Regions from separate parts of the Homo sapiens genome. Here region 1 is linked to region 2. The links are contacts of gene promoters, found by promoter capture Hi-C in blood cells and fetal thymus (Javierre and others, 2016). All regions are on one chromosome and are shown on one strand. The core of a region is centred on a gene start or on the middle of the fragment in contact, and the rest is flanking DNA. Distances in the headings are between cores, read along the strand shown. Region 1 overlaps BPESC1 (blepharophimosis, epicanthus inversus and ptosis candidate 1). Region 2 holds the start of CEP70 (centrosomal protein 70).

What was found. Contacts are between HindIII fragments. The CHiCAGO score rates a contact against its expected background, and 5 or more counts as called.
Region 1: a contact is called between a fragment that was not itself captured here and the fragment with the promoter of CEP70 in region 2, in 1 of 17 cell types (fetal thymus). The highest score is 7.6, in fetal thymus.

The regions. Positions count from the first base shown.
Region 1 is chr3:139,108,459-139,115,956 of GRCh38, reverse strand. It overlaps BPESC1 (blepharophimosis, epicanthus inversus and ptosis candidate 1), which reads right to left. Exons shown (of 3, transcript NR_026783.3): 2 at 6,652-6,745. Among named protein-coding and RNA genes, the nearest start is that of BPESC1, 8.0 kb to the right of the region's middle. The HindIII fragment of the contact is 2,027 bases long and covers 3,520-5,546 here.
Region 2 is chr3:138,592,272-138,599,108 of GRCh38, reverse strand. It overlaps CEP70 (centrosomal protein 70), which reads left to right and starts at 4,849. Exons shown (of 18, transcript NM_024491.4): 1 at 4,849-4,911. RefSeq lists an enhancer at 4,585-4,644. The HindIII fragment of the contact is 6,508 bases long and covers 1-5,239 here.

The DNA.
Region 1 (7,498 bases), core at 3,284-5,783, 520 kb before region 2:
ATATATAATATATATTTATAATATATATTTATAATATATAATATATATTTATAATATATATTTATAATATATAATATATATTTATAATATATATTTATAATATATAATATATATACAATATATATTTATAATATATATACAATATATATTTATAATATATACTATATATTTATAATATATATACAATATATATTTATAATATATAAATATACAATATATATTTATAATATATAATATACATTGTATATTTATAATATATAAATATATAATATATATTTGTAATATATATTTATACATTATTTATATAATATATTATATATATTATATACAATATATATAATATATTATATTATATATAATTATTATATATAATTATTATATATAATTATTATATATATTATATTATATATATTATAAATATATATATTTTTTATTTTATATATTTTTATATTTAATATATATTTATATATATTTAATAAATATATAAATATATAAAATATATATATTATAAATATATATTTTATATTTTTTATATATTTAATATATATATTAAAATACATATATTTTTTAATTTCTATAATATATATTATATAATATATTATATAAAATATAAATATAATATATATATTATAAAATATATAATTATATAATTATAATATAATATATATAATATATAATATATTATATATAAATTATATGTAATATATAATTTATATATATTTATATATATAAATTATATACATTATATGTATTATATAATTTATATTATATATATTATATCTATAATATATATAATATATTAATATATTATATTATATATAATTCATATATATAATATACATAATATAATATATTAATATATTATATTATGTATATTATATATATAAATTATATATAAATATATTATATTTATATATTATAGAAATATAAATTACATATATATTATATAAATTATATATTATATAAATTATATATTATATAAATTATATATTATATATAAATATAAATATATAAATATAAATATATAAAAATTATATATTTATATTTAAATATACATAAAAATATAATATTTTTATATATAAAATATAAAAAAATATTAAAATATATAATATATAATATATAAATATATATTATATATTTATTATATATTTATATATTATTTATATAATATATTATATATATTATATAAATTATGTATATTATATAAATTATATATTATATATAAATATAAATATATAAATATAAATATACAAAAATTATATATTTATATTTAAATATATATAAATATATATATTTTTTAAAAAAATAAATAAAATATATAAATATAAATATATATTATATATATTTATATTATATATAATTTATATTATATATATTATAATGTATATTATAATATAATATATAATATATTATATATTTATATATTATAATATATTATATATTATATATAATATATTATATTGTATAATATATAATATACTATAATATATATTTTTATATATTATATAATTTGTTTTATATATTATATATAAATTATATATTTAAATATAATTAAATATATTATATATATTATATATTATATATAAATTTCATATATAATATATAATTTGTATATATTATATAATTTGTTTATGCCAGTGTCACCACAGACACACAAGTAATGCATTGTGCTTCGACATTATGATGGCTACAGCATCACTAGGCAATAGGAATCTTTCACCTCCGTTATAATCTTATGGGACCAGCATCCTATATGCAGTCCACCATTGACTGAAACATCATTACGCAGCACATCACTGTGTGTGACACACACACACACACACACACACACATTCTATTGACGCTATTGTTCTGGAGAGCCCTAATACAATTTCTCTCCCTGTTCTGGATTCTACCTTGGCCACCCTTTCCTAAGGTGCATGGGTGCATAAACACACACAGATGATACCCACCCAGAAGTAAACTTTAGGTCTTTATTCACCCACAGACACCTGTGGTAAGTCCAGATGATACATACAGTTGGAAATGGGTACAAGGTCCTGGACAAGGTGACCTCATGCCAGTCCTCCCTCAGACTAATTTACAGATGGCAGCCTCCCTGACGGCAGGCAGGTGGGGTAAGTGCTCTGCCACCTACTGAGTGCATATTCTTGGACATGCAACTTGACTTCTCTGAGCCTTAGCTTTTTCTTCTGGAAAATGGGGATAATAATACTATATGTGTCACTGGATTATTAGAAGAATGAAAGGAGATAGAGTGCCTAACGCAGCTCATCGCTACTCCCAACAGGACAGTTCCAGTAATTCAATGTTATTCCCTCTTATGGTACACACCCATGTCCACACTGTCCAATCTATAAACAAAAAGACTGTTAAACAGGGCTTACGGTTCGCTTCACAGAGGCCTCAGGAGAAGTCTCCATGCTTGCTTTTAAATCAACTCTTTGTTCCCACACAGACTGACCACCGTTATCTCCTTTGACTCTCACTGCATCATGCAGTAGCAGGTGGCTAACCCCATGCACCAGGAAGGAAAGTGAAGCACAGGCACAGCCCATGACACACTTTGTGTGAGATGAGCTGGAACCTGCAGCTCCTGGCTCCAACTCCTAAGAACTCCTCTACTCAGCAGGGCTCTGCAGGTTCCCACTGGGTCCACTTGTGCAGAAGGGATTGTGAGGCCGCCCATGCCAGAGGCAGCTCCCTGCACCCTCAGGAAAGGCTTCCTTACCTCTAACCCAGACCTTCCTGGTCTGCTCAGCCTGCTTCTTTGGACTTAACTGGAGCTGCCACCCTTAACCACATCTATTCCATGTCTCTGTTCTTGTATTCTCCCAAATATCCAGAGCCCAGTTTCTTTCCTTTCTTCTCTCTTAAGATTTATTCTCCAAGCTTCAGCCTTACAAATCTGCCCTAGCCAGAATCTTCTGGGGACACAATAAAAACACAAACAGTTCTTCACTTGAGGCTTTCTCTTGGCAACCATGTGTAAAGACTCCCAAACAACAGATAAAATAAGTTAATCTGGTATTTAGGACATTGTCTGAACATGGAACTGGACCAACTGGAGAGGCAGGGTGTGTCCAGAAGGACACAGGCAGGGTGTGTCCAGAAGGTGGTCAAGAACCTGCCTTCTACTCTTCTCTCTGCTACTACCCAGGTGGGCTTGGGCAACTCATTTTGCCTATTTGTGCTTCAATGTCTCCAGTTATGAAATAAATGAGTGAGTTGGATAGAGTTGGATAATTTCTAACGTCCTAAATATCTAGGATTCTCTGACATACTGGTTCATCCTCATATATAAGTTATCACTTACATAAGGAAGAAATCTATATCATGGGTGTTACTCTTGTCCCAAGCCTCTGGCAGACATCACTGGTTGACAACAGCATTCTTTCCTTCTAAGACAGACCCAGCCTCAGAAGCTTTCTCTACAGAGCACTCCAGTAGCTACTACCAATCAACCAGTACAAATAAATACAACTATTTGTATTAGAAACATTCAAGACCCTAAAAGCTTGTCCTCATCAGGATCCTCCAATACTGCCCCACCCAGGTGTGGGGCCTGCTGGGGCTCTGCAGTGTCTCTGAGGCTGGATTTCAGGACTCACTCGTCTCCCACAGATGTCTGGACCATCAGGCAAGCTGGACCTGTCCTGGTCACTCCATAACTCCCTGGCATCTGGTGCCCACAACCCAGGACCCACAGAAGCCTTGGAAGATGTCTCAGAAGCAGAAACTTCTGTCCTAAGGAAAAATTCCAGAGAAGTGGAGGCACAAAGTGTGGGCCAGGGCATTGCCAGACCCACCCCAGGGCTGCCCAACACACACACGCACACCACACCCACGCTCTCTGTCCAGCTCAGGTATTCACGCGTGCACACACACACACACCCGGAGAAGAGCTCCGGGGTGAAAACGTCCTGCAACAGTGCCATCTAGTGGGAGCCGGGGTCTGTCCTGCCCTCACAGGTTTCCTCCGCGAGCCCCAGGGAGATGGTCTTAAGATCCAGAGATGTGAAAGTTGTGGCTGCTTCTTGTGAAGAAAAATACAAAATAAGCAATAACGGGAGACTCTGTCTACCTTGGGATGTCTCACTGCCCCCCTCAATTCGCACCTGTACACAAGGCTAACTGGCCCAACCACCACCATCCCTCTATCTACAACACATCCCCAAATCCCTGCTCTCTGCCTTCAGCCCTGTGAAATTCTGGCCCCCTGGGGTCCTGCTACAGCCCCTTCTACCCCAGCATATGGTCTCTGACTCAGTCACACATTTCCAGGAAACATGGGGAGGACTCTAGCCAGATTCTAGCTCAGCTATTCCCCAGTTTTGTAGTTTCCTACATCCGAACCTCAGTTTACTCTTCTGTGAAATGGGAGAATGTCTTTGTGACTAGGTTGCTGTGAAGATTAAACAGCCTTTTCCAGAAGGTCTCTGGCTGTGATGCCTGAAAAATCCCAGCAGCACCAAGGAGGTTCACAGCTCTAAGATGGTCAGGAAGGCTATTTGCTAGAGGCCAGGATAGTTCTCAACCCTACAGGGGATGGAAAACCCAGACAGTCCCTCTCCCTCAACACTGGGAACTCTGCCCCATCCCTCTTACATGGGTGGGGTAAGACCACATCCTTTTAAATAATTAAATACAACATAGGATCCCAAGCAGGAGAACCCCTCCTTGCCTTTTAGAGACTATGGGAAGATCTGTCAGAGCTTAATGCTTTCAGGCTGGGCGCAGTGGCTCACACCTGTAATCCCAGCACTTTGGAAGGCCAAGGCAGGAGGATCACTTTGAGCTCAGGAGCTTGAGACCAGCCTGGGCAACATGGCAAAACCTCATCTCTACAAAAAAAATTCAAGCTGGGCATGGTGATGCACACCTGTATTTCCAGCTACTTAGGAGGGTGAGGTGGGAGAATCACTTGAGCCCAGGAAGTGGAGGTTGCAGTGAGTTGAGATCGTGCCACTGCACTCCAGCCTGGGTGACAGAGTGAGATCCTATCTCAAAAAAAAAAAAGGAAAAAAAGAACTTAATGCTTTCAGGTTCAAATGTTTCCAGCCAGTGTAACAGAGCAGAAATACTATCACTGATCATGGCAGAGGACTTTAAGAGGAGGAAGAGCATTACTAATCCCTCCTCAGCAAAGGAGACTTTTCCCAGGGGTCTGGGAGACTAGCTGTACACAGAGGGCTTCTGTAAGGAAGCCAAGGGACAAGGAGGCCCTGGAAGCCAGGAGGCTGCTGTGGCTGAACAGGAGGAGATGGAACAGTGTTGCTGATTCTGCAGCCTGAGGATGATGACACCCCAGGCTCCAGAATACAGTGTCCAGCCACGCTGCCTGCTTGCAGAGGAAATGAAACCCTGCCCATTCTTCATACCTGTAGGAAGGGGAAGAAGCCTTAGGTGGTGCTCCTAAATGGCCTGTGTTGCTAGGGAAGGACCGCTGGATACTGAAGCAACCACGTCCAAACTCAACTTCAACGCTCATTCATTCGCTGCATGGGTGGGGGCCCAGAACACAAGCAGCTTCTCAAAAGGAAGCTTCGTGGCTAGGCAAAAGCTGAAAGACACCTCCTGAAAGTGAAAACGTAACCAGCAAATCTAATAAAGTCGGCCCCAGTGAGAAACCTGCAAAGCAACCAAGATGACATGAACAGCAACAGCCAGGCCCTTCCTGCGCCGGGGGCAGGTGCCAACAGCATCAAAGTCCTGTGGGCCAAGGGCCAAGAGCATCAGAATCTGGCAGAAGAGACAATTCCTCTCTAGACTTGGCAGATCCAGTCTCCCAGTGTGAACCTGCCTTTTGGCCTGAGAGCCAGCAGCCCCAGCCTACAGATACAGTGTCCTTGCCTCTACCTGAACTTAATTCAAACCATTCTGCTCAACCCTAATTTGGAGCTTTTATTAGGTTTTAAGTTACACTATATATGGCACAATAGAAATATTTTTTCAGTGTTAAATTGGAAACATACCACAAGAGGATTTTTTAAAGCCTTTTACAACATTGTAGACTGAAATGTCTTCAACTCTCCAACCAAAATCTAACCAAGGTAACCTTCACAGGAAAAACTTTGATATCAAGAGAGGTATGTATCCTCTGGAATGTGCTTTTCTTCCTCTTTTCCAAAAGCAGTCAACAATATTCCTCTAATCAGTCTGCGGTGTGTTAGCATTGAAAGTAGGCATACTCTGGGGGTATTCCCAGGAGAAATAATGGCAGATATAGGCAGAATAAAATCACCATGCCCCCTGGCCTTTCAAATGAACATGTCCATCACCACCATCTGTCATATAAAGTGAGGCCTGGAGAGCAGGTCGTGCTCCGAATGGATCAGGCTAGGGTTCCTTGCTTGCCTCACACTTGAAGCACTCTGTACAGGAGACCATTTCCGTGGCAAGAGAGGGGCTAGAGACCAGGACACAGATGGTCTAAGCTCCAGGTGGCCCAGAAGTGCTTATGCTAAGAAATGCTTGGGCTGCCCCGCTAAGAGCAGCTCCTCCACCTAGCACTCCTCACACTCTTAGATGAGGAGCTCCGGGAGCTCATTTGCATCCTGGCTGTAGCCCTGCTGAACATCATAAGGACAGCCTGTTGAAGGACACAGACTCAGGCATATGACCTGGCACATGGCAGAGTCCAATACCTACCTTTGACATTTTGGACCCAACTTGGAATTTTTGAATGATTATAGTTGTCTTTTGAAGAAAATCAAGGCAATGAATAAGCGGCAGCTGATAAATGCTGGGAGAAAGAAACATGACAATCATGAGAATATGCCTATATTTGACCCATACAGAGCAAACTAATTTCCTTTAATTATACCAAGAAACCCTGAACTCTAAAGCCAGAGCATCACTCTCCAAGGTTGCTCTTCACCCCTGTGATCTGACCCTTTTCTCAAGGGCAGAGCAGCTGGCCAACTTGATGCCACTGATACCACAATAGAGGCACTGCAAGCACAGGTCCAGGAGGACAAATGGCCCCTCTGGAGAACTGGGACAGGGTGGGTTCATTCCTCAGTGCACTGGGTAGGATGGGGCTGTGTTTGCTACCAACCCCATAAGCCAACTGGTCAAGTGACAAATGCTGAACAGAATAAAAACAATCTGGCCCCTCCAAGCACGGGGCCTGAGGTTGCACAGGCACCTCTGAGAGGTCCCATTTGAGGATGTGCCCAGCCCACAGCTCTGCCCATGACCCCTCTAATCCTGGGGCTTCCCATATGCCACAGTCAGCACTGGGTCTGGTCCCTGCTCACTGCTGTGGGTATGGATCTTGGTGCTGTGGGAGGCTCCTGTGGGGCTATGGAAACTACACCCTCATGGAATGGCAAGGGATGTGCACAAGCCATGGGCCCGAATGCTGTATCATTTGGACACACATTCCAGGAGGAATTCCAAGCAGAAAAAGGCTTTGGGCTGGGAAAGGCATAAAGAGCTCCCAGAAAGACAGGCCTAGAGTTGGGCCTTGACTGATGGGCAGAAAAGGGAACGT
Region 2 (6,837 bases), core at 3,600-6,099:
AAGAGAGGATTATAGGGAGCTCATCCTCTGGAATTCATATCACTTTCATCATTATATTTACTCAGTACTTATTGGTCATCTGTTACCTGGCAGGTGCTGTGGCAGGGAATACAACAGTGAACAACACTGATCATTTCTCCCACTCATGACACTTACATTCTAGTGGAGGAGGTAGTCACAAAAATATGTACAAATAAATTGTGGTAGCCATTCTTCAAGATGGGCCCCAGGGATCCCCACTTCATGGTATTCATCTCCTTGTGTAGTCCTCTCACATTTTACCACGGTTGGTCTATGTGACCAATAGCATATGGCAGAAGTAGTGATATGTAACTTCTGAGATTAGGTTATAAAAAAGACTGCGGTTTCTGTTTTAGTTGCTCACATGCTGTCTTTGGGCTGTGTACTCTGTGGGAAGCTGCCATGTTATGAGGACACTAAGGCAGCCTGGGGAAAGGCCCACTTGAGGAGGAATGAACTGAGGCTTGCCAATAGCCGCATGAGTGAGTTTGAATGTGAATCCTTTAGCCCCACCTGAACCTTGAGATGACAGTAGCCCAGACCAAAAGGTTGACTGAAACCCCATGAAAGATCTTGTCCAGACCATCCAGCTAAGCCCTACTGTATTCCTGACCCACAGAAACATTGTGATGATAAATGTTTATTTTAAGCTGCTATGTTTTAGGGTAATTTTTATGTACCAATAGATAACTAATACACAGACATTAGCAATAACTAATACACAGTAAATAATTGCAAATTGTAATAAATGCATATACCAATCTGATGGTAAAGCAGATGTCTGTCACAAGAAGTGGTATGGTCAAGTGGTTAATGACATAGGCTTTGGAGCCTGAATGCCTAGGTTCAGATCCTGGCTTTGCCATATACTAGTGTGTGACCGTGGCAAATCATTTCAAAATTTTTTTGGCTTCTATTTCCTAACTTGCTCATTTGTAAAACAGATAATAACAGTACTTATATTAAGGTTGTTGCGAAGATTCAACAAGTTAGAAAATGAAAGTGCTTAGCTCGGAGCCTAGCACATTTTAAGTGCCCAATTAACATAACTATTGTTATTCTGTATGGATTATTGAGCATTTGTCATTAATATATTTGCCTCAGCTGTTTGCATATTGTCCTTCACATTGGAAAATGACTACTGAAGGTGAATGCTCTGAATAAATTTGACTCAAATTTAACAATGTAGTTCTGAAAGAAGAGAAAGACCCTCTCATATTATTTTATATTGTTTTATACTCAGTACCTGTTTTAAGAAAAAACAACAAGGAAGTAAAACCAAAGACAGGCAGCCCGGCGCCTGGCCCGAAACCAGGCCTGGGCCTGCCTGGCCTAAACCCAGTAGTTAAAAATCAACTCATAACTTAGAAACCGATGTTATTCATAGATTCCAGACATTGTATAGAAGAACATTGTGAAACTCCCTGCCCTGTTCTGTTTCTCTCTGACCACCAGTACATGCAGTCCCTGTCACATACCCCCTGCTTGCTCAAATCAATCACAACCCTTTCATGTGAAATCTTTAGTGTTGTGAGCCCTTAAAAGGGACAGACATTGTGCACTCAGGGAGCTCGGATTTTAAGGCAGTAGCTTGCTGATGCTCCCAGCTGAATAAAGCCCTTCCTTATACAACTCAGCGTCTGAGAGGTTTTGTCTGTGGTTAGTCCTGCTACAGTTCAAAGCTGTGTTTAGCACCTACTGTGCACCAAGGAAATATGCTAGCTGCAGGATGAAGTTTAGTAAGACATGGTTCATGTTCCCAGGGGTTCAAATTCTTGTGGAAAAGGCAGAAACAAATGTATTCATGTAATAAAGGAATCTAAGTCTAAAAAACTTATGAGTTGAAGAATCTTTGAGAATTCATCATGATTACCATTACATATGATATACTCATGTTTTTCTAGGGAGAAATATGACAGTTCTATACCCAGAAGAAAATTTGAGAATCAGTTTAGAAGTTGAGAAATTAGGCCGGGTGCAGTGGCTCACGCCTGTAATCCCAGCACTTTGGGAGGCCGAAGCAGGTGGATCACAAGGTCAAGAGATTGATACCATCCTGGCTAACACAGTGAAACCCCTAAAAATACCAAAAAAAAAAAAAAATTAGCCAGGCGTGGTGGCAGGCGCCTGTAGTCACAGCTACTCGGGAGGCTGAGGCAGGAGAATGGCGTGAACTGGGGGGTGGAGCTTGCAGTGAGCCACGATCACGCCACTGCACTATAGCCTGGGCAAGAGCGAGACTCCCGTCTCAAAAAAAAAAAAAAGAAGTTGAGAAATAAAAGATGTGTTTTAACTGCTAATGAAAGTTATAATTTATGCTAGGAAGCCAAAGTACAGAGGAAAGCAGAAAGCCGAAATGAAGACATGCTTGGCTTTCAACTTAAGTGTCACTTCATCAGAGAGGCTTCCTCCATAGCCCCTCTTCTCTTCTTTGATATCACTTATTATATTAATAATATATACTTAATTGCATTTGTTTCATATTTTCTCCGCAGTTAGACTATAAGATCCACGAAGGCAGGAATCACAACTGGGCTTACTTACTATTGTAAACTCCCCCACTTATAAATCTGACTCAGCATCTAGTTCAATCCCTGGTACAAAACAGGTGCTTAACAAAAAAATTTTTTTTTTTTTGAGACGGAGTTTTGCTCTTGTTGCCCAGGCTAGAGTGCAATGGTGAGATCTCGGCTCACCGCAACCTCCGCCTCCCGGGTTCAAGCGATTCTCCTGCCTCAGCCTCCTAAGTAGCTGGGATTACAGGCATGTGCCACCACACCCGGCCAATTTTGTATTTTTAGTAGAGATGGGGTTTCCCCATGTTGGCTAGGCTGTTGTCGAACTCCTGACCTCAGGTGATCCACCTACCTTGGCCTCCCAAAGTGCTGGGATTACAGGCGTGAGCCACTGTGCCCGGCCAACACATTTTTATAAATGAATGAATGTTAAATGAATGTTTAGAATTATTAGAATTCTATTGGGTAGATGAGGCCCATAGAAAACTCTTGAGACCAATGTAGCAGGATTCTCAGTGAAAGACTAAGTTTGTGTGCAGGGATGTTTTCCTTCTCTAGCAAAGAGAGGTGCTGGAAAGGCTTTCATGGTCCATAAGAAGGGAATTGTTTTGGAGGGCAGTGCTATAGCAACTCTTCCCCTCCATTCACCACATAAAAAATTCAGTTAGAAAATAGAGAGGAATCAGCCTTCTTGTGCTTTGAAGACTGTGAAAGATACTGGTGATCATCCATCTAGCATCCATTTTCCTCTTCTCCTTTACAGGTCTCCAGTTTTATTCAAATAGCCATGTCTCCACCTTGCAACTCATGTGACTCAAAGAGCACTGACACCATTGCCAATTCCAATTGTCATAGCTCCTTTTCACTTCTGGAACCCAGGCTTAAGCTGTCTGTACATTTCCCAGGCAGTTACTGGTAAAGAGGAAGAGTGTGTGCCTGTGTGAACTTATTGGCTCAAAAAACCAGAAGGAAAGGTTTTAGATGAAAAAGAAAGTATGTGGTCCTGATTTCTCCAAGTAGACATCTGGAAAATCACGTTAGTATGAATTTGAAGTCTACCCTTTTTTTTTTTTACAACAAAGCAGAGACTAATAGCAACTGGGTCCTTGTTAACTTGCTTAGCCACTGAATTAATCAAAGTCTCCCTTGCCTCTGAGCTTTCTGTTATGCGAGATAAGCAACTTCTTTATTTTTTAGGAAGACAGTTTAACTCAGATTCTATATCACGTGCATCCAAAATAATAATAACTGACTCAAAGATGTTTGGCCTCTACAATTAGGGCAGCCATTCTCAGAAGAGTATGCAAGGGCACCCTATTATCTTGGAAAAGGGAAGCACTGAGACTATTTGCATTTTGAGAACTGAAAATGCAATCTGCTAACCGTCGTTAGAGTGAATATCCAGGTATGGAAAGCACAGTGGGTAGGCGTAGGTTGGGGTAGGGACATGTTTGCATGGGGCAAACACAGAGATCAAACCTAAGTGTAGTCCCAGCTGCCTGGAAGAAGGCTAAGAAGGGTCTGAAAGTATTGAGCTCCAAGAGCCCTTGGATCTCCTGATGAGAGACCCTTGGCTGATGCCCTAGATGGGACATCCCTGTTGGCTACTGTGGGACCTGCATCATTTGACTGCAACACAGTCTGTTGCAACATTTGACTGTAACACAGACCTACATCATTTGACTGATTTGAAAAGACAAGTTGTCAACAGCGACACCATGTGGCTATAAGATACAATGACAATGGTGGACAGCTACAGCCTCAGGTAGGGCCTGACGCTTCGTCGAGATGTGGAAAATGCTGAATGGGAAGATGAACTGTCGTCAACAAATATTTATTGGGGTCCTCCAAATGTCAGCTGCTACAGTGGTCATTCAGGTCTGGAACATCGAGAACATGCTGACCCGTACCCCAGCAAGGGCTCGTAGTCGCGGCGGGGTAGGGGGCGAGAGAGAGGGCAGTCTCTGGTGGCCAGGTAACCCAGGCTTCACTTTCACCCACGGCCACAAGTATTTCTGACGTCTTCCGGGCAAATAAGCCTCCATGTAAGTGACAGGGCACCCAAGGAGTGCGTTGGAAGCGCCAGCGTGCCCGAGACCAGCACATCGCACCGACGCCTTCGTTTGCGGTAAGCCCCGCCCCCCGTAGTGAGCCAACCGGAGGGAGCGGGGCGGACCCAGCTTCCCGGAGAGGCTGGAGAGAATCGTTTGGGGGCATTCGCAGGCCAAAGAGGGGCTGGCCCTCGACGCGCTCGGGCTCGATTGGCCGCCCTCCCCCGGCGGTGGTAACGGTCGCGGAGGCGGGGCCTGACGTAGCTGATCCCAGCCTAACCTGGCCCGGCTGGCTGCTGGTGGGAGGCCGGCGACTGAGTAAGGTGAGTGGCTCTCGGGGCTCTCAGAGGCGTCGGCGTGAGCCCCTTCCCGGAGTACCCCGGACTTGACCTCACCTGGGCCTAAAAGTGGTCAGACTGACCCTTGTCGGGGAGGAGCCATCTGGGACAGGGTCGCGCCAATTAAAAATCCCTGCGTAAGGGTTTGGGGATCGGACAAAACTGCCTCCAGTCCCAGCTCCCCAGGCTTTGTGTTCTTTGGCTTCTCCTTTAATGTCTCAGCGCCTCCGATTCTTTATTTGTATACTAAAGCTGGTAATTCTTGCCTTACAAGGTGGTTGTGAGGGTTAAATGAGGCAGTAAGAGTAAAGCTTAGAATCACGTCGGGCACAGACTCGATTTAAGCTGTAGGTAATTACTCCATCCCCCAAAATCGACCCGGGCTGAAGCGCTAGTTTTGTGTCAAACAACCGCGAAGGTTGTTTGGGGAGTGAGGACTCGGAGCAGAAGGGGGCGGTTAGGCGAATAGCACAGGTGAGTATCTCTTTCTCCAGTTTATTAACCTCATTCCGGATTCAGGAGACCTCTGACTTTATACAGGGCCTAATAGGAGTTTTTCAAGGTGAAAAATGCCAGAAGGCTAAGTCACCTGTAACAGAGAGACCAATCAGAGTTTCCTTTTTTACTGCCACTTTGTTTTTCAATCAATGATATTAAACAGGCAGGGCGCAGTGGCTTACGCCTGTAATCTCAGCACTTTGGGAGGCCGAGGTGGGCGGATCCCCTGAGGTCAGGAGTTCGAGACCACCCTGGCCAACATGATGAAACCACGTCTCTACTAAAAATACAAAAATTAGCTGGGCATGGTGGTGTGCGCCTGTAATCCCAGCTACTCGGGCGGGTGAGGCAGCAGAATCGCTTGAACTCGGGAGGCGGAGGTTGCTGTGAGCCGAGATCGCGCCACTGCACTCCAGCCTGGGTGACGGAGCGAGACTCTGTCTCAAAAATATATGTATAATATATTAAACTCTGTGCAGGCATTACCCATATTGGTTTCAAGCCTCTGCATGAGTTTTGTACTTTAAATATTGCCAAGTAGACTCTGGCCTCCCCTGCCCCGCCTTTTGGGGAAGAGGTGGCTGACTTGGAGTTTTCCCTACAGCTTTTGCTTCAAAGCAAGGTTCTGCCCCTTCATGTCACCTCTCCTGAGACAGAATGATTTGGTTGAGATGACATTCCATTTTAACTCTTTCCTATTTGGGGTAAGTTCAGCTCTTTCTTAGGAACATTAAACAGCAAGTTGCAATATTTTTAGAATAGAGCTTTTGCATTTAATAAGGAATAGAGACTTCGAAAGGGTTACATGTTCATTTATTGCAGTAATTTGAAGTATATACTTTTGAAGATGCTTACAGATTTTGGTGTGATTCAGTTGAGAAGGAACAGTTATTGGCCATGGTTTATTGTCAGCTCCCCTCCCCCACCCCAAATGGTGAAAAAAATAATTAAATTTTAAGATATGGAGCATGTTACAAGGGGCTTCAGACCTATAAAGGGCAATTTGGCTGAAAGACTCGGGAAACCTAGAAAGTGCCAGAAGATGCAATTATGTTTTTGCTTTTCTATGCTTGGCTTACTATGCCATGTACAAATCAACTCCTACCCTCCGACTCCTACCCCCCGACTCCTACCCCCAACAATCTTATTTTAAGTGTGTTATGACAGTAATTAAAGCTGTAGCTTCTGTTTTGGCCCTAGAAAGCATTTGGTCTCTTCCTGTGACTTTAAAGTTCCAGACCTTTGTCCTGTCACAGCCTGTAGTGGGGAAAAGGCTGCTGCAAACTATTGGCCCGTTTATTTCACAGAATGGTCCTCTGAAAAGGAGGGCTTGGTCACAGGTGCAAATGAGGAGTAGTTTTGTTCCTGTGTTTGCTTTTGTGATCAGTGGTAGTTTGTCTGAGGATGCTTCAT